6 separate regions of the Homo sapiens genome follow, and all the other regions are linked to region 1. The links are contacts of gene promoters, found by promoter capture Hi-C in blood cells and fetal thymus (Javierre and others, 2016). All regions are on one chromosome and are shown on one strand. The core of a region is centred on a gene start or on the middle of the fragment in contact, and the rest is flanking DNA. Distances in the headings are between cores, read along the strand shown. Region 1 holds the start of NACC2 (NACC family member 2). Region 2 overlaps CAMSAP1 (calmodulin regulated spectrin associated protein 1). Region 3 overlaps CAMSAP1 (calmodulin regulated spectrin associated protein 1). Region 4 overlaps CCDC187 (coiled-coil domain containing 187). Region 5 overlaps UBAC1 (UBA domain containing 1). Region 6 overlaps QSOX2 (quiescin sulfhydryl oxidase 2).

What was found. Contacts are between HindIII fragments. The CHiCAGO score rates a contact against its expected background, and 5 or more counts as called.
Region 2: a contact is called between a fragment that was not itself captured here and the fragment with the promoter of NACC2 in region 1, in 7 of 17 cell types (megakaryocytes, naive CD4 T cells, monocytes and 4 more). The highest score is 9.6, in megakaryocytes.
Region 3: a fragment that was not itself captured here is called in contact with the fragment with the promoter of NACC2 in region 1 in 1 of 17 cell types (M1 macrophages); the score reaches 5.5 in M1 macrophages.
Region 4: a contact is called between a fragment that was not itself captured here and the fragment with the promoter of NACC2 in region 1, in 2 of 17 cell types (megakaryocytes and naive CD4 T cells). The highest score is 5.3, in megakaryocytes.
Region 5: a contact is called between a fragment that was not itself captured here and the fragment with the promoter of NACC2 in region 1, in 2 of 17 cell types (megakaryocytes and M0 macrophages). The highest score is 6.0, in megakaryocytes.
Region 6: a fragment that was not itself captured here is called in contact with the fragment with the promoter of NACC2 in region 1 in 8 of 17 cell types (total CD8 T cells, naive CD8 T cells, megakaryocytes and 5 more); the score reaches 9.7 in total CD8 T cells.

The regions. Positions count from the first base shown.
Region 1 is chr9:136,092,588-136,097,669 of GRCh38, reverse strand. NACC2 (NACC family member 2) reads left to right here and starts at 2,381. Exons shown (of 6, transcript NM_144653.5): 1 at 2,381-2,481. RefSeq lists silencers at 1,919-2,018, 2,339-2,468 and an enhancer at 3,674-4,365. The HindIII fragment of the contact is 6,619 bases long and covers 1,283-5,082 here.
Region 2 is chr9:135,865,119-135,870,200 of GRCh38, reverse strand. It overlaps CAMSAP1 (calmodulin regulated spectrin associated protein 1), which reads left to right. Exons shown (of 17, transcript NM_015447.4): 4 at 3,665-3,745. Among named protein-coding and RNA genes, the nearest start is that of CAMSAP1, 40 kb to the left of the region's middle. The HindIII fragment of the contact is 660 bases long and covers 3,348-4,007 here.
Region 3 is chr9:135,881,305-135,886,386 of GRCh38, reverse strand. It overlaps CAMSAP1 (calmodulin regulated spectrin associated protein 1), which reads left to right. Exons shown (of 17, transcript NM_015447.4): 2 at 3,309-3,571; 3 at 4,593-4,754. Among named protein-coding and RNA genes, the nearest start is that of CAMSAP1, 24 kb to the left of the region's middle. The HindIII fragment of the contact is 2,817 bases long and covers 574-3,390 here.
Region 4 is chr9:136,262,689-136,267,770 of GRCh38, reverse strand. CCDC187 (coiled-coil domain containing 187) reads left to right here. Exons shown (of 26, transcript NM_001378188.1): 16 at 260-387; 17 at 1,728-1,815; 18 at 3,973-4,149. Among named protein-coding and RNA genes, the nearest start is that of QSOX2, 19 kb to the right of the region's middle. RefSeq lists an enhancer at 65-134 and silencers at 1-310, 375-534. The HindIII fragment of the contact is 7,726 bases long and covers 1-5,082 here.
Region 5 is chr9:135,953,142-135,958,223 of GRCh38, reverse strand. It overlaps UBAC1 (UBA domain containing 1), which reads left to right. Exons shown (of 10, transcript NM_016172.3): 2 at 2,809-2,929; 3 at 4,471-4,544. Among named protein-coding and RNA genes, the nearest start is that of UBAC1, 5.7 kb to the left of the region's middle. The HindIII fragment of the contact is 9,505 bases long and covers 1-5,082 here.
Region 6 is chr9:136,239,206-136,244,287 of GRCh38, reverse strand. All of the region lies in intron 1 of QSOX2 (quiescin sulfhydryl oxidase 2), which reads left to right. Among named protein-coding and RNA genes, the nearest start is that of QSOX2, 4.1 kb to the left of the region's middle. RefSeq lists a silencer at 4,202-4,331 and an enhancer at 4,547-5,075. The HindIII fragment of the contact is 3,219 bases long and covers 827-4,045 here.

The DNA of each region.
Region 1 (5,082 bases), core at 1,132-3,631:
AGTTGAGACTGTGGCCCCCAGGCCCTTGTAGCAGCCAGGAATCAACAAGATCAAATGCAGGGAGGAGATGCGGAGGATGCACCCGGGGTGAGCCCCACTCAGCCCAGGCCCTGCTGGGGACCCCTGAGTGAGCCCCAGGCTAAGCTGTAAAACGGGAATAAGGCTGGGCGCAGTGGCTCACACCTGTGATCCCAGCACTTCGGGAGGTTGAGGCAGGTGGATCACCTGAGGTCAGGAGTTCAAGACCAGCCTGCCTAACATGGTGAAACCCCGTCTCTACTAAAAATACAAAAATTAGCTGGGCGTGGTGGCACGTGCCGATAATGCCAGCTACTCGGGAGGCTGAGGCAGGAGAATCGCTTGAACCCGGGAGGCAGAGGTTACAGTGAGCTGAGATCGCGCCACTGCACCCCAGCCTGGGCAACAGTGTGAGACTCGGACTCAAAAAAAAAAAAAAAAAAAGGAATAAACAGAGCTCACCTCATGGTACTGTTGTGAACGTTAAATGCGGTAAGGTGTACATACTCAGTAGCACGGGCCTGGAATTCAGTAGGGATGCAGGGTTTGCTTTAAAAGGTGCAAATATATGTTGGTGTACATACGTATAGGCACACAGAAATTGGGGAATTGATTTCTGCTTATCCGCTATCTTCTAAACACTTTTCAATGCTTTCCAAATATCCTTCACTAAGGAAGAATGTCTTTAATATTTAGAAAATAAAAGTGATTAAAACAATCATTCCCATCCCTGGAGGGCCACGGGTCCTAGTGGGTAGCCCCTTGAGGCCTGCCCCAGGGCTGGAAGCAGCTCCAGGCATCTGTCTCTGGGATTCACGATTCTCAGGGGCTTGGGGTAGCTATGCTCACTGAGAGATCCTGCAGAGATTGTAAAGTCAGGCCTAGGAAGCACCAGAACCCTGAGGCTGCTGAGCTCATGCCCTGGGTGTAGGAGGCACTCAGAACCCTCCTACCCCACCTCCTTCCCACAGTAGACTGCGGGGCGGGTTTGGAAGTGGCAGTGGTGGGGGGAGGGGGGTTGGGGTGTGGGACCTGGGACTGCATTTAGGTCTAGATGGGACTCTGTGGGGAGAGCCCAGAGTCCCTGCGGGGTTCCATACTCACCCCCATACAAGGCAAGCCAGGGAGTGAAGTGTGTGTGTGTGTGTGTGTGTGTGTTCTGGACGCAGAGCTGAATAGAACCTAAAGTTGGGGTCAAGGGCCAGTCTGTGGCCAAGATCAAGGGCCTAGCTTGAGGTTGGGGTGACAAGAACCTGGCCAAGCTTCTGATGATTTGTCCAGGGAATGACCTTGGCTGACTGTGCCAGAAGGGCTGTAGCCCCAGGTTTCTGATCCCCAGAGCCCCAAAGGCGTTCTCTGGGATGCTGGTGGCCATCTCCTTCTCAACCCTTCTCCCAGCGCCCTCGCTCGGGACCACTGAGGCGGTATCACTCCATTCTCCTGCAAGGACCCTTGAGCGTGCTGTGGGAGTGAGGCTGGCTTAGCCTCTGAGGACCACTGCAGCCTGTCCTGACCTCAGGCCCCAGGTTAGGGGGCAGCTGAGGAGGGGTCTCTGGGTCTTTCCGGGTGTGTGGCCGTTTTATTTCCGTGCCCTTGTTTTAAAACTGCACCTCTGTCCTCAGGAGCGTGGCCTTGGGCAGATGGAGAGCTGCGTGGCCGGTGCCGGAATGACTGTCAACGCCCCAGTGCGCCCGGATCACACCAGGCCTGAAGGCAGCGCCAGGCCCAGTCCAGGCAGCTTGCAGTTCCCGGGCCGCAGGGACGGGCGCCGGAGCCCCGCAGACGTTCGCCCAAGGGCGCTCCCGTATCCTCGTCTTTCACGGCCCGCCTGAGCGTCCAGGGCGGCTGCGGATGCGCGCACTTCCCCCGCCCGGATCCCGGAGGCTGCACCGTGCGGACGCGACTGCCGCGGGCAGGGCGCGCGCCGGGGGCGGGGTAGGGGGGCCCGGGGGCTCTCCCGGGCTTAGCGAGTCCGGCCGAGGCCGGGGCCCGGGGAGGGCGGAGGGCGGCGCTCCAGGTCCTTTCCCGACCCGGCCGCCGAGCTCCGTCCTCTGCGCCGCGGCGTCCGGCTCCCGCCGGGTGTCCCGCGCAGGGTCGACCGCCGGCAGCTCCGGAAGGAGGACGCGCGAGGGGCGAGGAGCTGCCGCCTCCCCTCCCCAGCGCTCGGGGTTCCCCACGCCCCGCCGGCCCCCACTGGGGACCCTCCCGGCCCCCGGACCCCAGCCCCGACCCCGGGAGCCCACCTGGCTGCCAGTGCGCGCGCGCGCGCGGCCGGCGCGCTGTCCCTTTAACGGCCCGCGGGCACCTCCCCCGCCGCCGCCCCGCCCCCGCCGCGGTGCGGCCGCCGGTGCTGGGCGAGGTCGGAGAAAGTCCATGGGAGCCGGAGCGCCGGGACGCCAAGCACTTCCTGCCGCGGGCGGCGCGCCGCAGCTGCCCAGGCCGGACCGGGCCGGGCGCCCGCAGGTACCGCCAACTTGGCGCGCGCGGCCGCCCCCGGGTTACGCCGCCGGGCGGGGTCGTCCCACGGGCCGGGCCCGCACTTCCCGCAAACTCCGCGGCCGCCCAACTTGGCGCGAGCCCCCTGCCGCAGTGCCGGCCGCGCGGGGCGGGTGCGGCCGAGTTCCGCGCCGGCCCGGGCGTGCGCGCGGGAACCGGCCTCGGGAGCCCGCGGAGGGGGGCCGGGCGGGGCCGGGGGGTCCCGGCGGAGGCGCCCGCGACCCCGGGCCGGGACGCCGCGCCGCGCGTTCGGGGAGACCCCGGCTCCGGGCGTCCCGGGGCGCTCCCCGCCGCCTGCTGGGTTTCCCTGGATTTCTGGGGACCCGCGCGGCCTCCCCAGGGACCCGACTGGCCGATCCAGCCCTCCGGGTGGGGAAGCCGGGGCAGGACTGGCCCGGGGCCAGGGCGGAGGTACCCACCCCTCCCGGCGCATCTGCGCAGCTGCCTGGCCCAGCCGGGCCCGCGCCTCGCCCTCCCGGTCCAGGTGGGCCCGTTCGTGGGTCGTCACCGCCTCCCGCGCCTCCCCCACTCGGGCCCCAGCCTGGGGAGAAACTGGGGTCCGGCCGCAGGGGGAGGGGGCTCTGCCTCTTGCCAGCTTCTGTGCCTCTGCGGAGCTGAGGTCGGGGGGCCCCAGCTCCTTCTCTAAGAAACTCAGCGGAGCCCGGGGCCCGCCGCGCACCCCGCACGGCCAGGGCGGACCGAGGCCTTCCGACGGAGTTTCCTGCTTCTCTTGCTGGGATCGTGTGGGGTCGGAGGTCAGAGGTCACCTCCCAGCCCCTCTGCCAGGCTCTGGGGGAAGTTTGGTCTTGGACTCTCGTCGTGGAGCCGCTTAAACCTGTGGGTCTGAAGGCCGCGAGGCCGGGTCCCTGGAGTTGGCCTCCCAGGCCGTTCCACTCCCTCCCCCAACCCCCGCGCGGGGCCTCCGGATTGGAGGTGTTTCACCCACGTGCTGGTGGGCCCGTCTCCCTGGGCCGCTGGGTGCCCTGAGCTGTGTTCTCTGCTGCGCGTTCCTTCCTGTGTGTGGCGGGGGTGCTGACCCGGGGGTGCCCAAGGCAGCCCGGACTCCCATCCCGTGGAGCTGCCTCCGGGAGCGCGTGCACCTTGGTGTTCCCGCCCGCCAGCGCGGCCGCACTCTCCTGCCAGAGTCCGTGTCCCTCCAGGTCGCCCCTTCTTCTCACCCACCCCTCTTTTCGTCTGGCAGGCTCCTGACCTCCTTCCCTCCTGTTCTCCAGTGGGACACTCAGCTCAGCATTCTGCAGGGTGTTTTAGCCTGTAGCACCCCCCAGCAGGGGCGCCTAGAGTTAGGTCAGGGTTCAGGCAGCCCCCGCCCCACCCGCCACCTCTCAGCCACCCACCCCTTCTTCTCCCGGCCACCGTTGGAGCACCCCTCTGGTCCTCTGTGGGGCCTTTCCCAGCCCCTCCCTTAAAGAGGCCTCTTGGCGTTTTCCCCTGGGGTCACTGTTGGGTGGTAGCTGGGCCAGAGTCCAAGGGGAGGAAATAAAAGGAGCTGCCACCCAAGGTGGTGGCCCCCTGTCCTTTCGGCAAAGCCACTTGGAATGGGCACAGAGAGTGGAACAAGATATCACTTGTCACTTCTTAGTGGCCAGGGATCCTTTCGCAGTGGTCACACCCAGGGCTCGATGGTGCTGGCCCTGGCCTGGCGGGAAGGCGGGGAGGAGCCACCCGGGAGATCTCCTGCTGGGAGCAGTGGGAGCTGGGCTGCTACAGGCTGCGAGAACAGGCTCTGTTCTTTACCACCGGCTGCTGGAAGGGTTCGCAGGGCTGCTCTGCCCTGGGCAGGGGGCTAGTGGTGACTTTTAAAAAATTCTTCAATCCTCCCTTTGTTTTCCAATTAAAGCATGAGGCTGCATTATTCATGAAACAACAGTGACGATCTTGGTGCTGAGCGGTTCTTCCAGGCCTGCACTCCTCTTGGCCTCTGCCTCCGGAGTCCTGCTTTCCTGGTTTGTGGGCAGTGTGGTCTCCCAGGCCCGAGGGATGGAATGGGGAACCAAGGTGTTGTCCTTTTCGGGATGTTGAGTTCCCAAGGTTCCACCTTGTGCCCCTTCCTCTGAGGTCTGTGCCTCTGACCTGTGTCCCTGGAACGCACAGGGCACCGAGTGCCCAGTGGCCCCAGCCACCGTCAGTGGGGCAGAGCCCATGTTCCTTCCTCAGCCAGCCCTGTTCTAGCCACCTCCACACACTGTCCCCAGGCTGCCTCTCTGCATCTCACAGCCCCTTGGGGTCACTCCATCCCCTTTGCAGGGTCACGCAGTGGGTTCCGAGATCCAGTTGGACTGTGGCCGGTGGGATGAGGGTCGGAGTCCACAGGGGGGCAGCAGGTGGCACCCCTTACCCCAGGATACACCAGCATGTTTCTCCGGAGAACCAAGGCCTTCTACAGACCCCAGTGTAACGAACACATTTGGGAACTTGACTATGGGGCCCCCTGACTCTGCTGCTCCTCCGGCCCAGTCCACCTTCACCTTGGTAGCACATGTCCCTGCCTCAGTGGCCCAGGCTGACCAGCCTCCCATTGTGGTTCTGAGGACAAGGTAGGCCACCTTC
Region 2 (5,082 bases), core at 2,428-4,927, 230 kb after region 1:
CCACCTCGTCCCTCCCTCAACATGTGGGAATTATGGGGATTAGAGTTTGAGATAAGATTTGGGTGGGGACACAGAGCCAAACCATATCAGCTTTATAGTCATCATCACTGGCTAATTCCAGAACATTTTTATCATTCCAAAAAAACTCTGAACCTATTAGCAGCCAGACGTCATTCTCTCCTCAGCCCCTGGCAACTAGCAGTCTACTCTGTATCCATGGGTTTGCTCAGTCTGGACAGTTTTTATGAATGGTATCATACAGTATGTGATCTTCCGTGCCTGGCATCTTTCACAGAGCATGTTTCCAGGGTTCTTCTGTGTTGTAGCGGGTGTCAGCGTTTCATTCCTTTTTATGCCTGAATAATATTCCACTGTGTGCTTACGCCTCGTTTTGTTTATTCATTTATCAGTTGATGGGCATTTGTGGTGTTTCTGCATCTTGACTATTGTGAATAATGCTGATTTCATGCACAAGTTTCCTGTGTGAATACATGTTTTCATTTTTCTTGGGTATGTACCTGGGGTGGAATTGCTGGGTCATGTATTCATTCTGTGTTTAGCTTTTTGAGGAACTTCCAGACTGTCTTCCACAGCAGCTGTGCCATTTTGCATTCCCACTGGCTGCATCTGAGGGTTCTAGTTTTCCCCATCCTTGCTAACATTTGTTATTTTCTGGCTGTTTTTTTTTTTTTTTGTTTGAGACTGAGTCTCGCCCTTTTGCCCAAGCGGGAGTGCAGTGGTGCGGTCGTGGCTCACTGCAACCTCTGCCTCCTGGGTTCAAGTGATTCTCCTGCCTCAGCCTCTCAAGTAGCTAGGATTACAGGTGTGAGCCACCACACCTGACTAATTTTTGTATTTTTTGTAGAGACAGGGTTTCGTCATGTTGCCCAGGCTGGTCTTGAACTCCTGAGCTCAAGAGCTCCATCTGCTTCAGCCTCCCAAAGTGCTGGGATTACAGGTGTGAGCCACCGTGCCTGACTGTATATCTTCTTTGGAGGAATTCATACCCTTTGCCTATTTAAAAATTGGATTGTCTTTTTATGGTTGTATTGTTCTTTTATAGATTCTGGGTACTAGATCAGTGAGTTTTTATACTCTGTTATTACTATATAGTAACCATTTCTAGTTCTTGCATTCTTCCTGGACCTTTTACCCACCCAGGGTTTTGCAGCTTCATGCTTTGGTCATTCGGAAAATTGTTTCACTGAGTTATGTAGATCTTCCAAATGTTGTCACATTTCATGACACAGTATCAAAACTTACATTCATTGATATTGCCAATCTTGGCTGGGCGTGGTGGCTCACACCTGTAATCCCAGCACTTTGGGAGGCTGAGGCAGGTGGATCACGAGGTCAGGATATCGAGATCATCCTGGCTAACACGGTGAAATCCTGTCTCTGCTAAAAACACAAAAAATTAGCCAGGCGTGGTGGTGGGCGCCTGTAGTCCCAACTATTCAGGAGGCTGACGCAGGAGAATGGCGAGACATGGGAGGCGGAGCTTGCAGTGAGCCGAGATCATGCCACCGCACTTCAGCCTGGGCGACAGAGCAAGACACCATCTCAAAAAAAAAAAAAAAAAAAAAAAAAATTGCCAATCTCATCAGAAAAGCCTTTACATGTTAGGAAGTTATCTAGCTTTTGGTGGCAGAAACAAGTTTTCCAAAATTTAAATTTTTTCTGAAATTCAAATTTTATTACTGGAAAAAAGTAGTTTTCTTTTAGTGACAGACATTCATTTAAAAAAAAACAAAAAACACTTCTTTGGTTTTGAGATGATGTCTTAACATGTTTGCAAATGTGAATAACTGGTTTGTTAATGGCTCAGCTTGTAACTCAGTCAGGTGCACAGGTGCATGTCCCGAGGTCACTGATGTCATTTGGACCACAGGAGAGGTGCTTTGTGCCTGCTGACCATGTGGTCATGGAATACAAAAGAAGTTGTACTATAAGGTAGAGATTTAATAAAATATTTTCCATCTGTATCGTTTCCTTCAGCCTAAAAAACTTCTTTTAGCATTTTTTTTTTTTACAAGCAGTTCTACTGAATTCTCTCAGCTTTTTTGTTTTTTTTTCTGAAAAAGACATTTTGCTTTCATTTTCCAAATATACGGCTGGATATAAAATTTTAGGTTGACTGAATTTTCTTTCAGGTGAAAATATGGCTCCATTCTGTTATGCTGCTGGGGTTACTTTGTGGGATGAGGTGGGACTGGGTTCTTGCTCCAACTTTTTAAGACACTGACTTTCAACCGTTGTCTTGTCTGCAGCCTTGTCTCTGGTCTGAGGATGGGAGGCGTCTTGGGGTTGTTTGCAGGGCCCCTGCCTGGCATCTCTTCTCCAGCACTGGGGCTGCACTGGCTCTGCTCTGTGTAGGTTTCCCTTGCTTACAGGGTTCCCCTCTTGCCTTGTTTGTCCTGTGGATTTTCAGCTTTTAAATTATCTTTTCTGTATTATTTTCACAGGGATCAGAGTTACAAGCAAATGTTTGATTTACTCTGTTTAGTCTTCTTGATTTTTTGGTAATTTATATTTTCCTTTAAAATGTTAGTTTCATTAAAAATTTCAAATTAATTTACATTTTAAGAAGGATGTGTTTTTACGTGGTGCTTTTTTAGTGGCTTCGACTTTCCTCCAAAAATATGACTGTTTCATGTTATGTATTGGTATTTTCATTCATTTTCTTGATTAGCTTTACAGACTTTTTTTTTAAAAAAAAAAAAGAGGGGGGTCTTGCTGTGTTGCCTAGGCTGGCGTGCGGTTTTTGGACTCAAGTGATCTTCGTGCCTCAGCCTTCCAAGTGGCTGGGATGATACGTGTGAGCTGCCACACTCGTCCTTTGCAAAGGACTCTTTTAATCATGCATACAAAACTTGGTTGTGGATTTAAATATCCTTTCTTCTACTTTCTCATTGATTGAATTTTACATTATCTATATTTTTTTTGTCTTTATTTTTAAAAACAGTTTTTCGTACTCCTGATTTGATGTGCATGGTGGACTCCTTTGTCTGTGTTGTTTGATGACGAAGCATTCAGCTCTGTGTCTTTTTGTCTGATCATGGCTTTTACCTAGCCCCTTTAAGCACTGCTGAGTGTTTTTCTCCATACTTTATGATTGCAATTTTGATATTGAGTTAGTAATTACAGGAGAGAATACTTAAATTTCTAAGAAGTTGAATTAATTTTTAAGGGGTGTATAGTTAAACTTTTATAATTAGATTTGGTTTGGTATGATTTTTGCATGGTCTGGGATGTGTGACCCATCCTGTCACAAGTTAGGCTCTTTAGTGAGGTGTCTCCACCAGATTGTTTTGTAAGTGGCATTTGCTGTTGGTGTTGGAGAAGCTTAGCTGTTTGACAGTACTTGTGTGGTGAGTGACCACTGCCAAGATGTAGTGACTCTGCCCCGCAGTGACGGGGGAGCACTGCGCTGGCATTGGGGTGGGGGTCGGGGGCAGGTGGTTTCCTGGTGGTAGCAGGCGGACCTTGTTGTGGATCATGTGGAATCCGTGTACTTCTGTATCTGTGTAATTGGCCTAAACAATACCTATGTCTAGGAGTCAGAGGTGAATCAGGTGAAGTGGGGGTCTCTGGGGGATAATTGTGGAGATACAATTGTGCGGGACAGCAATTACCTCTTTAATGCATTTCTCTTCTACTTTAGGTAAATCTTAAAATGAGAGAGATAACAGAGAAAGAAGTTAAATTAAAACAACAGTTATTGGAAAGTCCAGCTCATCAAAAGGTAAAGGGTAAATTTAATTTTTCTGGAATGCACTAAGTTAATGTTGGTCCCAATTTTAAAGAATTCTGTTAGTTCCCACTATTTGCTTATTCTCTATTTTTACTCACCAAAGAAGCAGCTAGTCTCTTGGATTCACCTGGTGGGCTGATTCTCCACACCTCAGTGAGATGTGACCACGGCAGCCTGCCCCGCCTCTCCTGGGAAGGGGTGTTTTGTATTGCACTTTATGGTGCGTGAGGGTATTTGGGGGAATTGGGAAGCTTGAGTGAGGGACGTAGGGCCCACCTGGGTGCTAGCTTCCACAAGTCAACAAACAAGGGGGAAATTGCCTGTTGCTAAAGATGCCCTCGAAAAGTCCTTAAGTGGCTCATGAGGTACAGCGTAGCTGGTGGTGTACCTGTGTGCCTGTGCCATGATTCTGCTGGATGAACCCTACGTGCCTACTGAAGTAGCACGATGGCTGGGCTGCACCTTCCAGCCATTAGCCTTTTTCTTCCTCTGACGTTATTTTCTCTTTTGCAAGCACATGTGTGACTGAATTCACTCAGTTCAGTGCACACAAGATGCAGCCCGACCATCTATAAGGTCTCGCCTTTGAAGGGCAGTGTGCTGCCTTCCCCTGTTCCTTCTTCCCCCTCCAGTGGCACCAGCCCCTGGCCATGCATTTGTTAGCTGGGTGGGTGGGTGAGTCAGGCCGCCTGGTATGCCTCCCTCATCTGGATCTTAAGCATTGAGCTTCCTCCCTGTTCCTCAGATGGTCATGTTTAACACATGGGTACAGACTAAGCACTAGACCCTTCCCGCGTCAGAGCTGACTTCTTGCCTTTTGGTACCCAGCCCATACCAAGTTTCCGAAGTTTTCTTTGCTACTGCAAAGAATAGTGTTGTGGAGGTGACTCGTGATCTTCCACTTTAATCATCTGCTAATACAACATGACTATGGCCACGTACACTTAGAAGACTTTGCTTACCAGAGGCTCTCCCGCCTCTGCCGTGTAAACGCCGTGGGGAAGTGTGTGTTACCTCGTCCACACGTGGACCTGCTCTGCTGATGCTCCTCTCCTGCCTTCCTTCTCTCGCTTCCTGAGCAGTCTCCCTCCAAGTGGTATTGGAAGTTAGTGCCTGTAAGTGAACCCCAAGCCGCCAGCTGCCATCTACAGAGCCATCCTGTCGCGATCACTTGCTTCCATTAAAAACTGCTCGCACCCAAAACTGTTTTTTTGTTGTTGTTGTTTAAATGTCCCACCTTGGAGTTATTTATATAGTACAAGAATTGGCCTGATTCTGAGCCGAATAGGCCTTGTAATATGGCACTTTGGAACTCTTAAGTTACATTT
Region 3 (5,082 bases), core at 733-3,232, 210 kb after region 1:
TGCCCCACTGCCCCACTCCTCAGTGCGGGACTGGTGTCTCCTGCACCCCAGTCCCCCAGCACTCATCCTGTGTGACACCCTCCACATTGCGTGGAAATTACCTGTTGACTTTTCAGTTGTCTTACGAGGCTCAGCCTGAGAACAGTGACTTTATCTCTTCCTGTTTGACTCCCTGGCATTTTTGTACATTTTCTGGCTCACATGGGTACTTAATAATTGTCGAATGAATGTGTATTAATTCTAACAGTCTTACTGGTTTGTAGAAAAAACAACAAGAAACTATTAGAAATACATTGAAGGCATCACAAAGTTTTTTTTTTTTTTTAAGTAGGTATTGATTTTGATAGAACGTTAAACGTTCTAGAACTGTGCACATCCAGCTCTCGCAGTAGTTGCTTTCACTGAAGCCAGTTACTCATGGACAAGTGCAGTGTCTGAGGGCAGAACTGCCACAGCAGGGCCATGGAGGAGTGTGGCCACTGTCACCCAGTTGGGGGTCTGGCCAGGGTCTTCCTTAGGCCGGATGGAAAGGAGTAACATACAGTTAGGAGGGCTTCACCACAGTCTGAAGCTTGTATCTTTAGTAAGTGCGTCATTTTCCTTTAACTCTCATTTTCCTGCATCTGAAATTTATGTGAATTAGTTGTGTTATGCATATTCATATATGATTCAAAAAGGTGATTATATGAATCACTTTATATTGATTAATTTTAAAAGTGGGTCACCCTATGGCAAACGTTTCTACTTGGTAGATTGTAAAAGAGAAACTTAAATCAGAGCCATGGTTGCTTTTTCCTGTCTGGCCAGGTTTCTGCATCTGTGAGGTAGGCTCTGCCATTCTCCCTGGGGCTCACCCTGCTTCCATCTAATGCCAGCCCTCCACTTACGTGCCTGTCCCGTCTCCCACTCTGCACAGAGCCATCACTCTGAGGGGTCCCCTGGGGCCTTTCTCCTCAGCTGTGCCAGTTTCTGCTCTCCTAGGGGGACTGCATCACAGTTGTCTAAGTGGGAGGAGAGGGTGGCTTGGACCAGGCCGGTTAGGCTCGAGGTGCCCCCAGACATCTACATGGAGATGTCAGATAGGCAGTTCAGGGAAGTGATCAGGGCCAGAAATGTACATTTGGGGATGACTGTGTGTCTGTGGTATTTCTAGCCATGAGACTGAATTAGGTCATTAGGGAGGAGTGAGATAGGAAGTGCCCCTTCCAATATTTGGAGAAGTGAGGGGCAGCTGGCCTAGGAGATGGGGATGGAGCAGGCAGCGAGATGGGAGGAAGAGGCCAGGTACCCCGAAAGGAGAAAGGCAGCTCCCTCCAAGAGCCCTGACTAGGTGGGCTGCTGGTGTGGTCAGTTGAATAAGAGGAAGGCTGAGAGTGACTGTCGCATCTTTCCCCGCAGCCGGTGTGAACTGCTGCAAACGTTTTCAGGTTATGGGATCCCTTGCTCAGTGCCCTCCCCTGACTTCCCTCCACGGCCCATGGGTGGAGGGAACTTGGACAAACATGGGCCCACAGGCCGCCTGTTTGTCCCTGGCCACCTTGCTCTTGTTTCCTGGGACGTCTCACTCCGGCGTGTGCGGGGTGGCTCTGTGCTCACCTCTGCAGGTCAGCTTTCCTTGAGCAGTTTGTAAGGACAGCAGAAGTCTTCCCGTTGTGCTTGGCATTGGGGCCTGTTCCTTGTGTTACTGCTGTGCTCTGTTGTATTTCAAAAGTTCCAATGATTTCAGATTAGGGGGCTACTCGATGTGGTCAGCAAGTATAGGATTTGAGTCTGTTAACATCCACTAAGCCAGCCTTCCATAGCTGGAGCCCTGGCTGCCCTTGGGTTGCCGTGATGACCTAATCATTGTGTACAACCATGCTTAAAACAAAAATGCTGTGTAAACGGTGACTGCTGCCGTTTAGAAGTAAACCAGCTATGAGGTGCTCAGATTGTGGGGAAATGACCAGACTCCATGGGACCATAATGAAGTGACTCAGGGCTCAGGAAAATAGTGAAGGAAGCCAGAAGAGATGGCAGCAGAGAGAGAGGGGTGCTGTGGGGAACCATCGCCACAGCTGGTTCTTCCCCTGGGGAAGAGCTTAGGAGAGCTTGGCTCGGAACACAAGACAGGTTTGTTAGTGTCCCCATGAATGTCTCTAGTGTTACTGGTTGTCTGAACGCTAGGAGTCAGTGGGGTTTCTTCATGAGCTGTTCTGTGGAGGTGGTAGTCCTTTCTAAACTCTGTGGAGGTGGGAGTATCTGCACCTCCTAGCAGAGTGTTGGGCGCGGGGCACATTAAAGACCTGGGGGTCACGTGTTTCCGAAATGTGTCTGACTGCAGACATCCCTCGTCCTCCGTCTTTAGTGGGACAGCCGTTGATGTCTTGTGAGACAGTGTGAGGGGCATAGTGGCAAGGCTAGAAAAGTGGGTGAGGCCAGCTGTGACACATTCGGTGTCCCGTGTGTATGCTGCTCCTGCGCTGTTTGTGTGGGAGGCGGCGTATGTTGCAGCCGGAAGTATACAGTAGGCTCTCTGGATCAGATTGTGTGGGTTCAGGCTGGTCTCTGCCTCCTGTGGCCTTGAGCACTTACTTTCTCTGTGCCTCAATTTCTCATTTGTAATGTGCAGATGGTAGTCCTCATTTGAGGGAACTGCAGTGGCAAGATTAAGTAGCGTGGTTCATGTCAAGAGTTTGATGCTGCCTGGTCCAAAAATGGATAAAGGCTGATTGCTGCTGCTGCTGCTGTGTCGTCATGGTTACAGTGGCACCACGCCTGCCTGGCTCCCTCTTCTGTAAAGACCATGGGTGTTCACCCTCTGTTATCACTTCTGATTTTCATGTCAGAAAGAGGATGCTGGGCTCCCTCCCCGGGCTGATGCCAGCCCTGCCCACATGCTGTCTCCGCTGGTGTCCCCAGGCACTACATGGTCCTAGCCTGTGCTGGTTTCCCCTCAGCCCCATTAACACACTCAGGGCTCCCATGTCTACCTTCTTACTGCTGTTAAGTTAGGACAGTCATCCTTTGAGGTCACGGTGGAGGTCACGAAATGATTTCAGTTGTCTGTGTTCACAGAGTAGTCTGAGATGCTACAGTTAGTTGCCTTTGTAAGTACAGAAGACAGTAGAATTATTGAAAAGCCTAGAGCCTTTTCACGTTGTTAGTTGCTCATTTAATCAATCAATCAATTATTTTTTTTGACACTTGGTCTCCCTGTGTTGCCCAGGCTGGAGTACAGTGGCACAGTCATAGTTCACTGCAGCCTTGAACTCCTTCCTTTGGGTCTTGTGTGTGGCACTCACCTGGTCATCCCCTCCCTGTCTTAGATAACATCCCTGAGGACCTCAGAGACCCTTTCTACGTTGACCAGTATGAGCAGGAGCACATTAAGCCGCCTGTTATCAAGCTTCTCCTGTCCAGCGAGCTGTACTGCCGTGTCTGCAGCCTCATCCTGAAAGGGGACCAGGTGGCCGCCTTACAGGGACACCAGTCTGTCATCCAGGCCCTGTCCCGGAAAGGGATCTATGTGATGGAGAGTGATGACACCCCCGTGACAGAGTCCGACCTCAGTCGCGCACCCATAAAAATGGTGAGTGGTCTGCGGTGGCCGCCCCCAGGGGCCATCCTCTGGAGCCGTGGGCTCTCGTGTGGCGCACCTGGTGCATGGATGGTGTGAACACGGTGTGCGGCGAGGTGGTGGAGACCCGTGCTTTTGCACACTGGCGTTCCTTAGGAAACTGCATATCTTTTAAAGCACATGACTGTTGTGGAGAATGGGGAAAAGAGAGCTTTCATTGAGCTCTTTTTCTCATTGGGAATGCTCTGTGAATGCTGAGATTGGAGTGAGGCCTGTTAATAAAAATACTTGAAGCAGACTTTTTACAGATGAGAAATGTAATTGTTGCACCCATTCTGTTAGGTTGTTTCATGCATACTTTGTGCTAAAATAACTCAGTCTGCCTTTTTCTCCCCCAAGTATCCCACCCCCATCTTTCTCTGAAGCCTTGCTACTGGTGTGCCTTTTCCAGAGCGTTCTGGGTCAGGGCCATTCTCGGTGCCTCCTGCACTGCCTTTGTTTGGTTGCTCCCATGGCGTTCCCGGTGAGACTGCGGGTGCCGTGCGGTGGTTGAAGAGAGTGTCATTCCTGTCGAATGAGGAAGCTGCACTAAGGCGTGGTGCAGCTGTAGCAGGTAGAGCTCTGGACTAGGAGCCAGAGGCCTCTGGTGGGCAGTTGGCCTGGGGCAGGTCTCCTGTCTGCCTTCCCACAACCACGACCTGGGAGCTGCACCGCCTTTCCTGGGAGTCCCACAGGGCTGTTGAGGAGATAAGAAAGGACAGTGTGAGACAGTGCACTGTGGGCCACAGGGCTGGCCTGCCTGCCTGAGAACGGACTCCTGGTTCCAGACGGTCTTGAGGCTTGACCAGAAATGCCAGGCTTGGAACAGTGATGGTGCGGGGGAGGCAGGTCTCAAATCTGAGTATCTCTTCAGACGGAAAGGGCGAGGGATGAAGAAATTAGGCCAGAATGCTGAGTATGAGCAGGTTCCCTGCATCAGAACCTGGTAAGAGGGGTGGGTTTGAGGGATTATAGCTGCTGCCTCTGCCCCTAGAGTGCCCACATGGCAATGGTGGATGCCCTGATGATGGCCTACACTGTGGAGATGATCAGCATCGAGAAGGTGGTGGCCAGTGTCAAGCGCTTCTCAACGTTCAGTGCCTCGAAAGAACTTCCGTACGACCTCGAGGATGCCATGGTGTTCTGGATCAACAAGGTGAGTGCCCTGCCTAGATGTGGTGTGTGACTCTGCTTCTGTGGCCGGTCTCCTTTTCACTTGAGAGCAGCACACCTTGTCTGTCACGCTGAGACCCAGCCCTTCATTTGGGACCAGTCATATTTTGTGTCCAGAAATGTGTCTGCTGTAGTTAAAAAGAAGCAAAGCAAGCAGGTGTTTCTCCCGCAGGCCGAGAGTAGAGGGTGATGAATTTATATCTGAAAATGCAGCACATGTCGGTACTTTGAGTGCCTTTAAATTTTTTTTTTTTTTTTGAGACAGGGTCTCACTTTGTCCCCCAGGCTGGAGTACAGTGGCACGATCATGG
Region 4 (5,082 bases), core at 1,036-3,535, 170 kb before region 1:
GGCTTCCTGGATCAGGGCTGGTGGTGAGGCCGAGATGCTAAAGATCCTGCCTGCCCCGCCAGCTCACAGTCGGGGAAGCGAGGGCGGCATAGGGGGATGGGAGGGGCGGGCAGTCCGAGAGGGCTTCTCGGAGGCGGTGGCCTGTGCTGGGAGCGGTCTAGAAGCTAGGCGGTGACGCGGCCCACCCTACTGGAGCCCCGCGAGGCCCGGAAGCACCGAACCCAGAGCTTTAGGGGCCTTGGGCCGCTTCAAGCTGCAGATGCTGGAGCGGAGCCTGCGGGAGGAGGAGCTGCGAGCACAGCACCAGGCCGCGCTGCTGCGCCTGCGAGAGATGGCGCTCCAGGAGAAAACGCTCGCGGAGCTGGCCTGGCTGGAGCATCGACGAGGGTGAGCGCATGCGCCTGGCGCCGGCCCCGCCCCGCCGTAGCCCCGCCCTGCTGTAGCCCCGCCCTGCTGTAGCCCCGCCCCCTCCCTGCCCCGTCCGGGTCCCGCCCGTGGCCCCGACAGCGTTTTGAGAAACAAGAGGTACTGGTCCAAACAGTAATAGGTGTTTGCTGAAACTTACATAAGGCAGTAAAGTACTCAATACACAAATAAAAAAATACCCCCATCGTTCCAAAGGTGACCTCTGAGATCATCTTTGTGCATACTTTGTTTTTTTGTTTTGTTTTGTTTTGTTTTGAGACAGAGTTTCGCTCTTGTTGCTCAGGCTGGAGTGTAGAGGCGCGTGGCGCGATCTAGGCTCACTGCAACCTCCGCCTCCCAGGTTCAAGGGATTCTCCTGCCTCAGTCTCCCGAGTAGCTGGGACTACAGGTGTGCGCCACCACGCCCAGCTAATTTTGTATTTTTAGTAGAGATGGGGTTTCTCCATGTTGGTCAGGCTGGTCTCGAACTCCCTACCTCAGTTGATCCGCCAGCCACGGCCTCTCAAAGTGCTGGGATTACAGGCGAGAGCCACCACGCCCAGTGCGGATACTCTGTTTTGGGGAGAAACACACATGGCTATTTCAACTTGCAAATGGGCAGTACGTGCTGTTTTGTAACTTGCGTTTTCAATTTATATGTCAGGAAAACCTTTCTGTGTAGCTACATAACCGCTATAACACACAGGGCGCACCGGCGTAGAGACAGGGCTGTAACTCCCTTCGCTTGTCCCGGATCTCCGGGCCTCTAGGTTGTCTCCAACGTTTTGCCATTATTAATGAAGATAGAGAGATCATTTCCTTAAGGTAAAACCTTAGAAATGGAATGACCGGGTCAGTGAGAATGCATCTGGAAGCCGCTTGATACTGCCACATTGGTCTCCAGAAAGGTGATTCCAGTTAACATCCTCACCCGGTGTCTGAGCGGGCCAGACTGAGGGTGTTTATTCCATGATGGGTGGGGGGTGGATGTGGGTGACCCCCACCTCCCTCCCCAGAGGACCCACTGGCCTGGGCTGGGCCTTCAGGGTGGCAGGGGCGGCTCTCGGCTAGCCTTTGTCTCTTTAGACCCAAAAGTCCAAAAGTGGCTGTGAGGGGTGGAAGAGTGACAGCCCGGGTTGGGCCATCTGGCCACCCCAAGGCTTCCAAGCCTGTCCACGCATGGCTGCGTCCTCCCTGGTGCCTGCACCTTGGGAGGGCATTCCAGGTTGATGTGGCCGACCAGGGCTGGCTGTGTCTGTGACTTTCTATATCCACTTGCACGGGCTGTCAACATTGGCAGTGATGTTGCCACCTCCCCCCAGGTGCCTGGACAGCAAGAGGGACAGAGCTGTGCTGGCCGCGCTGGTTGAGAAGCAGCAGCAAGCCCTCAGCAGATTGGAGAAGGAGCAGGTGGGGCCAGCACAGGCCTGGTGGGTCAGGGTGGGCGGCTCACAGAGGCAGTCGTGTCATCTTCTTGCCTGGAATCTGAACATTCCCCAGCAACAGAGCTAAAGAATTCCCAAGCCCTTGCCACCCTCCAGGGCCATACAGGACCCCGAAGTATAGAAGGAGTGTCCACGGCCCAAGAGGGCATCACGGCCAGGGTGGAGCGTGGTCCTGTACACAAGGAGTGTCTGCGGCCTTCTGGGGGCCTCGTGGCCAGAGTGGAGGGTGGCCCTGTGGCCCTGGCTCCAGACCAGGCTCAGCCTTTTGCTGGATGTCACCTTGAGCAAGTGGCTTTGTCTCTTGGAGCCTCAGTTTCCTCCTTGGAACCAGAGAATAATTGTGGTCTCTGTAAAGCAGGGGGTTGGGAGAGTTTAGTGCAGCCAGCACTTACCCGGGTGGACGTGTGCCATGTACGCCCTCAGAGGACTTTCCCAGCTGCTCCGAGCCCAGTTCCCTCATCTGAAAAATGGGGAGAAGCCTGATGTGCACATGCATGGGGGCTGGGAGGGTGGTGCAGGTGAATCCCTAGCCGCGCCTGGCAGGGAGGGGTCTCCATCCGTGGCTGCACCTGCCTTCCTGCCATCGTTGTCACCAGGGACTGGAGGAAGCAGACCCCCAGGGAAAGTCGGTGCTGGGGGCACATGTGGAGGGGGGAAAAGCTGCCAGAGTCAGGGCTTTGCCTGCGGCAGAGAGCAAGGCTGAGGGGCAAGCCTGAGAGCCAGGACGAGGACCCTTGCCGGCCCCTGCCCAGGTCACAGGCTCAAGGGCTCCTCACAGGTCGCGGCCGCTGTGCCTGCATCCTCACTTCAGTGCCCCCATGCTGTGGGGCAGAGGCTGGCGCTAACACCCTTGGTACAGATAAAAGAACCTGGCTGGGTGAGGCAGTTCATCCGTAATTCCAGCACTTTGGGAGGCCAAGGTGGGAGGATCGCTTGAGCCCAGGAATGTGAGACAGGCCTGGGCAACATAGCAAGACCCCGTCTCTACAAAAAATAAATCTGCCACTATAGGTGGCCAATGCCTATAGTCCCAGCTATTTGGTGGACTGAGATGGGAGGATTGCTTGAGCTTGGGAGGTCAAGGCTGCAGTGAGCTGAGCTTGCACCACTGCACTCCAGCCTGGGCAACAGAGTGAGACCTTGTTTCAAAAAAAAAAAAGGTGAGCTGGGGTGGGGGACTACTTTGCCCACGACCCTCTGCTGGGAAATGGGGTCAGTGCAGGACCTTATGTTGACTGGAAAGCCCCGGGATCCCCATCCCTGCCCTGGATGCCCTGTACATACTACGACCTGGGGTGTCAGGCATGGGGCATTACAGGCAAGGGAGCTGGGGGCGGAGACCCAGGCCACAGACCCATGCACAGGTCCTCTCAGATACGGAGAAACAGGAAAAGGCAGGCACCACAGAGAACAACGTGAGCCGGGGAAACAAAAGGGGCTTAGAAGGGGTCTGCATGTCACATGGCAACGACGGGGCCTGGCAGAACAGGCGCTGCCCAGGGATCCCAGGCGGGAGGAGCTGGAGCTGGCCGGGGCCAGGGACTCCCAGCCACAGCCAGGCTGCGTGTCGCAGATAGAGATGCCGTGGTGGAGGTGGGGTCTGGGACTCCCCAGTGGGGCCATGGACCAGACACCCGCTTGGCAGAGCCTCGCTTTCCCGTCTCACCAGTGAAGCTGCTGTCTCCCAGGGCGAGTGTGCAACGGCCCGGCCCGGCCCTGGGCTCTGTGCAAGGTTGTTCCGAGGGTGCGTCCACCAGGGACGCTGTGGGGAACAGAAAGAACAGTTGTAAAGGAGTGACGGGGTGGGGGCAGTGCCTGGAGCCTGCAGAGAGGGAGGGCGAGGCCCAGCCAGCCTGTGCCAGCCCTGCGTGGGCCCTGGGGAAAGAGTACCTGCCTCCCTCCTGCCGCCCGCAGCTGCCTCCTCCACCAAGCCCAGGGAAGCCCAAGGCCATGGGGGTATCCTAGGCCCGGCAGGAGGGGCGGGCAAAGGCCAATTGGAGGGAAAGGGAGGCCTCCCAGTGTGAGGGCCAGGGCATCCCCCCAGACACCCCTTCCCTTTTGTTGGCCTTTTCCCCTGCTGGCTCCGGGGTTATGCTGACATCTGCTTATTTTGCCTGCTCAGAGGGAAATCCAATACCTGAGACACACGCAGCTGTTCAGGCACCGGGACAGGAAGCTGCTTCTGCAGCATCAGAGGGACGTCGTCTCCATGCCGGGGCCTGTGGACATCCTCCCCATCCCGGGGCCCACGGACGTCGTCCCAGCGCACGAGCTGCAGGCCCAGGCCAAGCTGCAGCAGGTGGGTGCTCTCGCCTGGGCTGGGACTCAGCTGCAGAAATGCTGTCCCCTTCCCATGATCGTGCAAGTCCCTTGTAAAAATGCCTGTGGGCCGGGCGCGGTGTCTCACGCCTGTAATCCCAGCACTTTGGGAGGCCGAGGCGGGTGGATCACGAGGTCAGGAGATGGAGACCATCCTGGCTAACACAGTGAAACCCCGTCTCTACTAAAAATACAAAAAATTATCCAGGCAAGGTGGTGGGTGCCTGTGGTCCCAGCTACTCGGGAGGCTGAGGCAGGAGAATGGCATGAACCCCGGGGGGCGGAGTCTGCAGTGAGCCGAGATATGCCACTGCACTCCACCCTGGGCGACAGGGAGACTTCGTCTCAAAAAAAAAAAAAAAAAAAGCCTGTGGCCCCAGGCAGACTTGCTGGGGGGTGGGGTGGGGCAGATGGAGGGAGGGAGGGGACACTGCTGGGGGGCTGAGGAGGCTTCCTGGATGGGGTGGTCCTGGCCAGGCCCTAGAGCAGAGCCAGACTTCAGGTGGGGGCAGCGGTGGATTGGGTGGGGAGGATAAGCAGGACTGGGGATCTCATGGGACCCAGGCAGGAAGGAGAGTGTGGCTGGGAGCTCCTCAGGGAGGCCAGCCCCTCAGGGACCCCAAGCAGCAGCTGCATCCTTGGAGGGAGGCTCCTGTCCCCCATGTCCACCGGCAGACGGAGTGAGGACGCTGTGTGGACAAGGGGTGGGGGACTGTCCCCAGGCAAGCTATGTGCCTTCCCCACCTGCGCGTCTCCTCTGTAAGGCAGGGAGGGCAGCAGGCTCACCTGGAGGGTGGGGATGAGGATTGAATGATCTGAGCTCTCTGAAGCACCTGCTCCAGGCTGGGCTGCAGGAGAGGGGACACCAGCAACCTGATTCCAGAGCTGGGCATGGGGGTCTCTGGCCAGCCTT
Region 5 (5,082 bases), core at 1,778-4,277, 140 kb after region 1:
TACAGAAAAATTAGCCGGGCGTGGTGGCGGGCACCTGTAGTCCCAGCTACTCGGGAGGCTGAGACAGGAGAATGGTGTGAACCTGGGAGGTGGGACTTGCAGTGAGCCGAGATCAAGCCACTGCACTCCAGCCTGGGCGACGGAGAGAGACTCCGTCTCAAAAAAAAAAAAAAAGAAAATTATACCTGTGGTGCAGTAGAGTTTTTGGTGTGTCGTAAACATTCATGAAATTCCAGCCTGGCCAACATGGCAATACCCCTTCTGTACTAAAAATGTAAAAAAATAGCCTGGCATGGTCGCGGACTCCTGTAATCCCACCTACTCAGGAGGCTGAGGCACAAGAATCGCTTGAACCTGGGAAGCGGAGGTTGCAATAAGCGGAGATCGCGCCACTGCACTCCAGCCTGGGTGACAGAATGAGACCCTGTCTTTAAAAAAAAAAAAAAAAAAAGAAGGAGTTCATAAAATTGCCAGACTAGAAGAGAGTACCCGCTAGTATAGCTGTTAAATTTTCCATTTCCTAGATCGCATGAAGATGGGTCCTCAGATGGCAGGTTGCATCAGGTACAAGCAGAAACGAAGTCACTACTCTTCTGGGGAGGAGCAGGATGGAGTGGGGTGGGGGTGTGAGGGCCTCCCTACTCCAGCGGCCTTGGTTGGGGCTTTTTTGCTGCCATACCCCAGCTTCTGCCGAGAACAAAGAAGCAGAGTGACACGGTCGTCCTAGTGCTTCCGTGTTGTTCCTGGTGTGCTGGTGACACGTGGACTGTGGGTTTTTTGGGAATCAGTATGAGAATTATTTTGGAAAACTGCATTTCGTAGTCTGTATTCTGAACTTGACAAATGAACTAGCCTGCAAACTTTAGGATCATGAGGAAGCACCCCCAGTATTTCAGGGAGCAGAGCCATTGTCAAATCCAGAGGCACTTGAGGGTTCTCTGCCCTGTTGTAAATGGCAGGAGTGTGTCTTCCTAGTAGCTGCGTCCCCCCAACATCCCCTCAGCCTGGCCAGTTTTGTGTGAAGGAGTGAGCCCCTGAAGCCGTCAATCCCTTTTTCAAAACCGTTTTCAGTCTTGAGAGTAACAGAAATTCCAGTTACTCTGAAAATGCCAGTGTTGAGAGGTGAAGTGTGTGCTTAGATTTTCTTTCCCAGCAAGCAGTTGTGTGTGCTGGGTGTTTCAGAGCCTCTGTGGCAGCAAAGGGTGGTGGAAAGTGAGCTGCCAGCAGGGCGTCTGCCCGGCCACCTGAGACGTCCGAGGACGGCCTGTCCTGGGGTGGTGCCCCGGCCCAGCTCCAGGCTGGGCCATGCTCCTGACCCACAGGCTGAGCCTGCTACCGGGTTTAGAAAGTGCCCAGTGAGGGTTTCATCCTTTTCTGATAGTCAGGTAATTCTACCATCAAACCTCAGGGGATCTGTAAGAGCAAGAAAATAGTCAGCCTTCTCTCCGTCCAAGCTCTGAGTTCTGAAGGGTTTTCAGGCCAGGCTATGGAAACTGTGGGTATTTTGTGAAACACAGAAGTGCAGCCCCTCTCCTCTCACCCCACGATTCCGGCTGGGGAGGCGCCATATTTGGTTAGGTGGGCACTGTTTGGTGTGGTGTGCGGTGCTGTGCTGTGCGGTGGTGTGCTGTGCTGTGCTGTCGTGTGTCGGGCTGTATGGTGCTGAGGTAGATAATAGAGTGGAGTCGTGGAGCTCTGGACCGACTTGGGCACGAACATGCAGGCACATGTGCCGACCTCAGTCTTCATCACACGGCACCATCAGTGTTTGCCATTCTTCACAAAATGGTGAGCCGACGCGCCTAGCCCCCGTGTTCAAAGGAAAGCAGGACTCCCGCAAGCCAGTGCCACGTGCATGAATCAGGGACAGCTGTGTGCTGTTTTGCAGAGAGGATGCTGGCCGAATTGAGGAGCAGGATCTACCCCTGCCAGCAGTTGGCTGTGAGATCTTTGTAATGGCAGGGTTGGAAGGGGTCATGGCCGTCTGCTCCAACTTCCTCCTGGAGTTTGCACTCAGTAGCTGTCAAGATGGCTTCCCAGGTCCCCCGTGAGCGCTGCTCGGAGGTGGCTGTGGTGTGTGTGAAGGGGATCCCCTCACTGCTACCCATGTGTTGCCTCCCGTTCCCTGCCCGGGTGTGGCAGGGTTTCCAGGGCCCTGGTGACTGCGTGCCCATTGGTCCACCTTCAAGCCGCCCAGGGGTGCAGCATGGCTGTTGCTTCGTGAGCTGGGCCACGCCGAGAGCAGTCATGCTAAGTGCCCCTCTTATCCCAATCTCGGGATGCAGCATGGCTGTTACTTAGTGAGCTGAGCCAAGCTGAGAGCAGTCATGCCGAGCGCTCCTCTTATCCCCATCTCAGGCTCTCTGTGAGCCAGTCTTCTTTCTGGGCAGCCTTTCTGGCCCCTTTCATGCGTCTGTGGAAAAAAGAAAAACAGCTACCCAAAACTTAGGTAGATCTTTAGGTCATCAGGAAACAATGGATCTGCTGTTTTCATTTAAAATTATTTTCCAGATCTTTCTAGACCAAAGAAGCAATTCTGGTGGCCGCGAATTGTCAGTAGGGTGTGGTATATCAGAGCTGGGAGCTTGCTTCAGGAGTACTCCATGGGCTGGGGATCAGCTCACTGGTGCTATGATGCTTCATTTGGCATCTACCATTAGTGGGAATTCTTTAATTTCATCCATGGTGTAATTTCTTAGCTCATAAGAAAACCCAGTAAATTCCTGGTGTAGCTTGGGATGCCAGGTCCTATATTATTAGAATTACGATTTACTTATTTTCTACCTTGAAATTTCTATTTTTCCCCAGTGTGCTCATGGGAGCTTAGAAGATCCCAAAAGTATAACCCATCATAAATTAATCCACGCTGCCTCAGAGAGGGTGCTGAGTGATGCCAGGACCATCCTGGAAGAGAACATCCAGGACCAAGGTAAGGCTGCTGTGGGCGGGCGGGTTGGCAGCAGGCATCGTGCACTGCTGGGGGCGCTGGAGCCAGGAGGGGGTGGTCCACCCACAGGAGTCAGTGTTCTGAGCTGGACACGAGCACAAAAACGAGATCGACTAAAAGCATTCTGTTTTTCCTTTATTAAAAAGAGTTCTGTTATAGAGTATTTGTGAAAAACAGCAGAAATTGAAATTGAACAAGCAGCAGGCATTTGAGAAGCCAAATGTGAATTTTGCTTTTAGTTCTGTTTCAGAGCAAAGCCAGAGACTCCAGGGGTTCTGCAGGTTTCACCTTCGTTGTGGTGATGTTGGCATCCCAGTGCAGTGTTAGACACACACATCCATGTAATTGCTTATGGTTTTGTGTCTGGAGGCACTTGAAGAGCAGACATCAGTTTTGTCTGTGTCATTCAAATAATGCCTTTAATTGTGGAAGTCCTTGAAGTAAGCTGTTTTGAAAATCCTGGAAGTATTGCTAACAGATATCCGCTGAGATGACCATCAAGCTCCAAGCCAGTGGGGGATGGGCACCGTCGTGGGCCGAGGATGAGCTGCATCTCAGGTTTTGACCTCTGAGGGTTAAGACTAAACTCTCCACCCTCACAGACTTTTTCAGAACTGAGCCGGTTAAAATGCCTGTTGCAGGATTGTCACCAATTCTTTGCACAATTATTGGGGCCGTGCTGTGCCTGCCTCCTGGGCCATGGGTCACCTGGGGGTTCGTGCCAGGCCTGGGAGCTTGTACCTCAGCTAGGGCCATGCAGATATCATGCAAAAGTGAGGGAAGGCTGGTGTAGATGCTTGGTTTGGGGGGACCAAAGGAACCCATGCTCTTTTGAGACAGGGTGTCGCTCAGTCACCCAGGCTGGAGTGCAGAGGCACAGTCAGGCTCACTGTTGCCTTGACCTCCTGGGCTCAAGCAGTCCTCCCACCTCAGTCTCCCAAGTAGCTGGGACTACGGGCATGTGCCACCATGCGCAACTATTTTTTATATTTTCGTAGAGATGGGGTCTCGCCATGTTGTCCAGGCTGGTCTTGAACTCCTGGGCTCAAGTGATCCGCCTGCCTCGTGCTGGGATTACAGGAGTGAGCCACTGCACCCAGCTGAAGCCCTGCTCTTCTTCTTTTTTTTTTTTTTTTTTAAGATGAAGTCTTGCTCTGTTGCCCAGGCTGGAGTGCAGTGGTGCAATCTTGGCTCAGTGCAACCTCCGCCTCCCAGGTTCAAGTGATTCTCCTGCCTCAGCCTCCCCAGTAGCTGGGATTACAGGCATGCGCCACCACGCCTGGCTAATTTTTGTATTTTTAGTAGAGATGGGGTTTCACCGTGTTGGCCAGGCTTGTCTTGAACACCTGACCTCAGGTAATTTGCCCGCCTCAGCCTCCCAAAGTGCTGGGATTACAGATGGGAGCCACTGCGCCCGGCCGAATCCCTGCTGTTCTGTTCTCAGGGCATCCAGCACCCTTTATGCCATTTTGTGGATATGAAGTGATAACCAGTGTGTTGGATATACGTGTTGTTTTTTCTAGATGTCCTATTATTGATAAAAAAGCGTGCTCCATCACCACTTCCCAAGATGGCTGATGTCTCAGCAGAAGAAAAGGTAAATTTCAAAGTTTGCAATTGGGGACCTTGGTTGGTAGAAGTCTACATTTAAGAATTACAGGCTGGGTACAGTGGCTCGCGCCTGTAATCCCAGCACTTTGGGAGGCCGAGGCGGGTGGATCACGAGGTCAAGAGATCAAGACCATCCTGGCAAATATGGTGAAACCCCGGCTCTACTAAAAATACAAAAAAAATTAGCTGGGCATGGTGGCTCATGCCTGTAGTCCCAGCAGCTCAGGAGGCTGAGGCAGGAGAATCTCTTGAACCCGGGAGGCAGAGGTTGCAGTGAGCCGAGATCGTGCCACTGCACTCCAGCCTGGCGACAGAGTAAGACTCCATCTCAAAATTAAATAAATAAATACAAACTTAAAAAAAAAAGAATTATAAAGAAGTTCTCTATACTAGTTGTTCACCAACCCACGCATTCGCCATTTACAGTAGATGTGGTTATAAGGGGTTCTCTCTCCCGGCAGAGCCTGTTTAATCCGTGTCAGTCCTGGTCCCTCCCTGCTCACGGGACCAGCACGGAAAACCTG
Region 6 (5,082 bases), core at 1,187-3,686, 150 kb before region 1:
CCTGACTCAGAACTGAGGTCAGAGACTGGAAGAGATGGACAGAAAAACTGTTCAGTGGGGTTTTTAGACACTGCTTTTAGGAAAACAAACAAGTAATTCAATCACGTAGGGAACCCTTCAGTTCTTGTGTGTTATTCAGTGGCAGAAACAGATATGTTCATTAAAATGCAGGTGGCCCTGGCAGGACTTGGTCACTTTTTTTGTGGGTTTTGGTTTTGATTTTTTTTTTTCAGTTGAGTCGCTGAAGTCTAAAGATCGTACCAGATTCAAATATTGCAAATTCTGTAACCGAAGCAGCACATAGGCAGCCTTGAGAACTGTCCCTGGAGCTCAGAAGGAAGGCCCCTCCTGAGAGCCACACAGTAACGTCCATACCCAGTGGTGTGATGAACTCAACTCAGTAAGCCTCCTTTAGTGAGGCTGACTGTCTTCCCAGTCACGACAGGAAGAACAGGCTTGTGCCTGAGACTGAGACTGGAGGAGGATATGGCTGAAAGTGAAAGACAGCGGTGACCTGACCAGGCAGCAGGGAGAGGGCTTCAGGGAGCCCAGGCAGAGGGTCCTGTTGGCTAAAAAGCCAAACTATAAAATACTGAAAGAGGTTTGTTCTGAGCCAATAAGTGTAGTGGCCATGGCCAGGGGAACAGTGTCAAGAGGTCCTAAGAAAGTGTGCTCTAGGCAGTCACGTTAATTTGATTTTATACATTTTAGGGAGACAGAAGTTATAGGCAGAGAGACATAAATCAGTACATGTAAGGTATAGGAAGGGGTAGGTTTACAGATCATAGGTGGATTCTGACTGGCAATTGATTGAAAGAGTTAAGCTTTGTCTAAAGACTTGAAGTCAGCAAAGAGAAATGCTTGAGTTAAGCTAAAGGGGCTGTGGAGGCCAAGGTTAAGTAGATGAAGCCTCACAGGCAGCAGCCTTGGGGAGAATAGAGGGTAAATGTCTCTTTTCAGACCTGAATGCTGTCAGACTCGTTAAATGTCTCCTAGATCCAGGAAAGACCTAGAAAGGGAGGGAGATTCTCTACAGATGCAAATTTCCCTCACAAAAGACAGCTTTGCAGGACCATTTCAAATATGTCAGGGAAATAAATGTATTTGGGGGTGAAATATTTTGATTTCCTGCAGGGTGTGCTATTTGTCATGTGGTGCTGTACCCGAGTCAGGCTGGAGTTTGGTGTCGTTGCTGCTGAGGCTGTGCTGTCTGTCTGTGATCTCTGTTTCATCACGCTGGTCAGCTCTGCCTAAACTCCAAAGGGAGGTGATGTAACCAGGCGTGTCTGACCTCCCTTGCCGTCAGGGCCTGGAATTTCTTTCCTCAGGTTGCCCTGGGGTCTCCTTGGCCAAGAGGGGGTTCAATTCAGTCAGTTAGGGGACTCAGGATTTTATTTTTGGTTTACAGTCCTGAGAGCCAAGCTGTGCCCATGAGGCTTGTGGGAGGTAGAGTCCGGGTAGAAAGGGATGAAAGGCCCTTGGCACTGAGGAGTCCCCGGAGCTGTTCTAAGGCTGGGACTCTCAAAGTAGGGCCACTTAGGGCCTTGTTAGAAATGCCTGCTTCTCCACAGCCCCAGCCCAGACCTGCCAGCTCAGAACTGTCTGCTTGGCGCCTGGCTCCCTGTCTGTCATCCCTGCGTGGAGCTGTCCCACAGGGATAGGGCGCCCATTGCCCGTGGCAGTGCAGGGGTCTGGCTGCATGCAGGCATTCCCGTTGTCAACATTCTCATGTTTTCTTATGTCCCTGTTGACCTGACTCAGATCAGTCACCTGTGGCCCTGATCAATCACCTGTGACTTAGGTCATCCTGCTGATCCCCTGGGGGCACACAGGCCATGGCTTGGGCCCCCACTTCTACCTAGAGTGTCCAGCCGCCTTCTCCCACTGGTCCCCCTGGCCAGCGCCCGCCACGCCCTGCGTTCTTCATGCCTGTGGCTGCTGGAGAGGATGGTTAGGTGTGGGCTCTGCTTCCCAGGAGCCTCCAGCTGGAAGGAGCAGGACAGGCCAGGGCACCTTTGTTTTCCTCAGAAATTTGGATTGAACTTTAGCTCTTGACTGGCTTTTTCAAGGCTGGGAAAATAAATGTTTTTTCTTATAAGAAGGTGGCTTAAGAAACAAAAGTTGTACTGTTTGGTGTGACCAAGTGTCATTCTAGTGTTTGTGGAGATTTGGCTTAAGCCTGTCACTTCTAAGTACTTTGCAGAACAAAACCTTGTTGGGTTCCTGAAGATCTGCCTGGCAGTGATGGTTGCTGGGTTTGTGATGGAAGATGAGGCACCAGGGCCTGGGGCTACACTTTGGCCCGTCTGACCGGTGAGATCTCCGAAATGCCTCTGCAGTCTTGAGTGGACAAGAGGGTGCACCCTAAAGGCAGGGCCTGTGTCCCCGTGCGCCCTCTGTGGCCCTGGTGCCTGTTCCCTCCCATCTCCTTCACTTGGTCAGCCTGAGAAAACAGGGCAGGCCACCACCCACAACAGGCTGAGTCCTCCTAGACCTGCCCTCAGGAGGGCGGGAACGCTTATGTTGTAGATGATAGCACATGAGGTTGCGTGGAACAGGCCGAGTCCTCCCACACCTGTCCTCAGGAGTGCGGGGGCGCTCATGTTGCAGGTGATAGCACGTGAGGTTGCGTGGGATAGTCACGGTCACGCAGCTGAGTGACAGGCCGGGATGGGTGTCCAGGTGTGGGTGACCTGGAGCCATGGCAGTTCATTCCTGTGTCTTTGTAGAGGACAGGTGGGGGTTGGGAGCTGGACACATCCGACATCTCTTGAAGGAAGGGTAGGGCATTCTGTGATTGCTGCCAGCTCCTCTGTCCCACTTGGTCTGGTTTCTTGTCTACTCGACTAGGCTGCAGGCTTCTTGGAGATGAATTAGAACTTGGTGTTCCCCACAGGCTCATTGTCCGTTTACTGGAAAAAGAAACAATAAGGGCCAGAGGGAGGGGGACATGCAGGTGTCAGCGGGCATTTGGCGGGGCTGACGGCCCGTGAGAGCTGCCAGGTGCTCACTGGACTCGGGAGGATGGAGAGGGTGGAAGGAGGAAGAGTTGGGCAGTGGAGGCCTCCTGTCTCCTTACGGGCCCAGAAATGGCTTAATGTAGCCCCGCTGTGGCGACCACATGAGTATTTTACAGAAAGGATGGTGCATCGGAGCAGCCGGGCTCCCCGCTGGCCTCCCCAGTGGCTGTGGTTGGTGCGTCTGAGACTACACCGAGAGACCCAGGCCACTTACTTGTTGTTGAAGTAAGACGGGATGGTTTGCTAAGAGGGCCTTACAGCCACGTCCAGGGAGCCGTCTCCGCTGTGTCATGCCGGTCGTCGTGCCATGGGGTGACCCAGGTCATAAGCACTGCTTGGGCTTCCCTGACAGAGGACGGGCTGAGGGACTGTCATTCCCTACCAACAGATAAACAGCATTGGAATTGCTGTCACCTCGGAGCACCCTTCGAGGCTGAAGAACGTGTAGTTTTGGTTTACCAGAATTGAGTTAAATGCTGGGGATCAAGAGTCCATGGGACCCAGCCCTGCCCTCAGTCCCCAGATGAGGCGACCGTAGCGTGTGCCCGGGTTTTCTCAGACCAGCCCTTGGCAACTTCTAGGTGATTTGTGTTAGGCTCTCCTGGTCGCTAGGTGGGTTTCATTTCTACCCAGGCCTGTTATTCCAAACTTGTGCCTTGAACTTGGAGCTTAGCTAAGAAGACCTTTGCTCAGCCAAGAGGGGGCTCCACCCAGAGAGGGTCTTCTCCAGGGACTGGTATGCGGAGTTCGAGACCCCAGCATGGCCCTGACTCAGGAAGGAGAGGCTGCAGTGGACCTCTGTCCCTTAAACACAGCTCCCTAGTTGCCTTTCAACTTGGGAGATTGTTTTATCTTTACTGTAATCATTTTCTAGAACGATTTGATACTGGACTATACATTAGACTTCTGTAGACTTTTTCATTAGAACGTGACAAGCAGTAAAGAGTTAACCTTGTTAGATTCAGTATTAGAGTTATTTGACAAGCACATTTGAAATAAATGTTAATCTACTATATATAGAAGCTTAATTATTTCCCAAGTATTTTTAAGACTGGAGTCCTAAAATAGCCAGGCTCTTGAGCAGAAGTGAGAATAGGCCTGCGGTCTCATTTCTGCCTCCCTTTGGAACCCCCTGGCTGTGCTGGGTTGGGCACCCCCGCCCCTGCCACACCCTGTGCCTCTCAGCTGGCTCTAACCCCAGAGGCCCAATGAAAGCAGGCCATTTGCATTCTGCTTTAGAGGTTCAGAGCTAGACAGGTGGGCAGAGCAGGAGAAGGGGAGGGTACCCGTTGAATGAGGCCAGTGCCCTGAAGCTAAGCCTTTTACGTGTTTTGTATTTGATTTGATAATATGGACTACCATATCTTTTGTGTTGCCATGAATACCGTCCATCTGCCGAGTCCTTGCCGGTACTCCTGGCGCCTGTTCAGCTGCTGAGGGAGGCCTGTGTAACTGAAATTCTCCCTCATCTGCTCGGCCTTCCCTGAGCACACGGCCTGGCATTCTTTCAAGGACAGACAAAGGCGACGTGGGGTGCCCGCATGCCCCTTCACCAGGACTGACCCTGAGTGGGGTGGTGGTGTTGGGAGCGTAGCTCTACTGAGGCAGGTCGAGGTGCTGCCCCTGCGGACTGGTGGATGGAGCTGGACTTCCCTCGCCCTGCAGTGTGTGCAGGGGCTCTGCGTGAATTCACGCTCCGGGATGAATTTGCGCTGGAAATTCATCTGTTGGAGGAACAGCAGGGAACAAAGCAGGGAGGTCCCCACCTGAGGAAGCCTGTGCTTTAGAGGGAGTAGCAGACAGTCAACAGGAAGACAAATAAAACAAGGAAGTGGCCGGGGCAGTGGCTCCCGCCTGTAATCCCGGTACTTTGGAAGGTGGGAGGATCACTTGAGCCCAGGAGTTCAAGACCAGCCTGGGCAACATAGCAAGATCCCCACTCCTGTGGCCCCAGCCACTTAGGAGGCTGAGATGGGAAGATCACTCGAGCCCAGGAGGTTGAGGCTGCAGTGAGCCGTGATCACTCTCCTGTACTCCAGCCTGGGTGACGGAGTGAGACCTG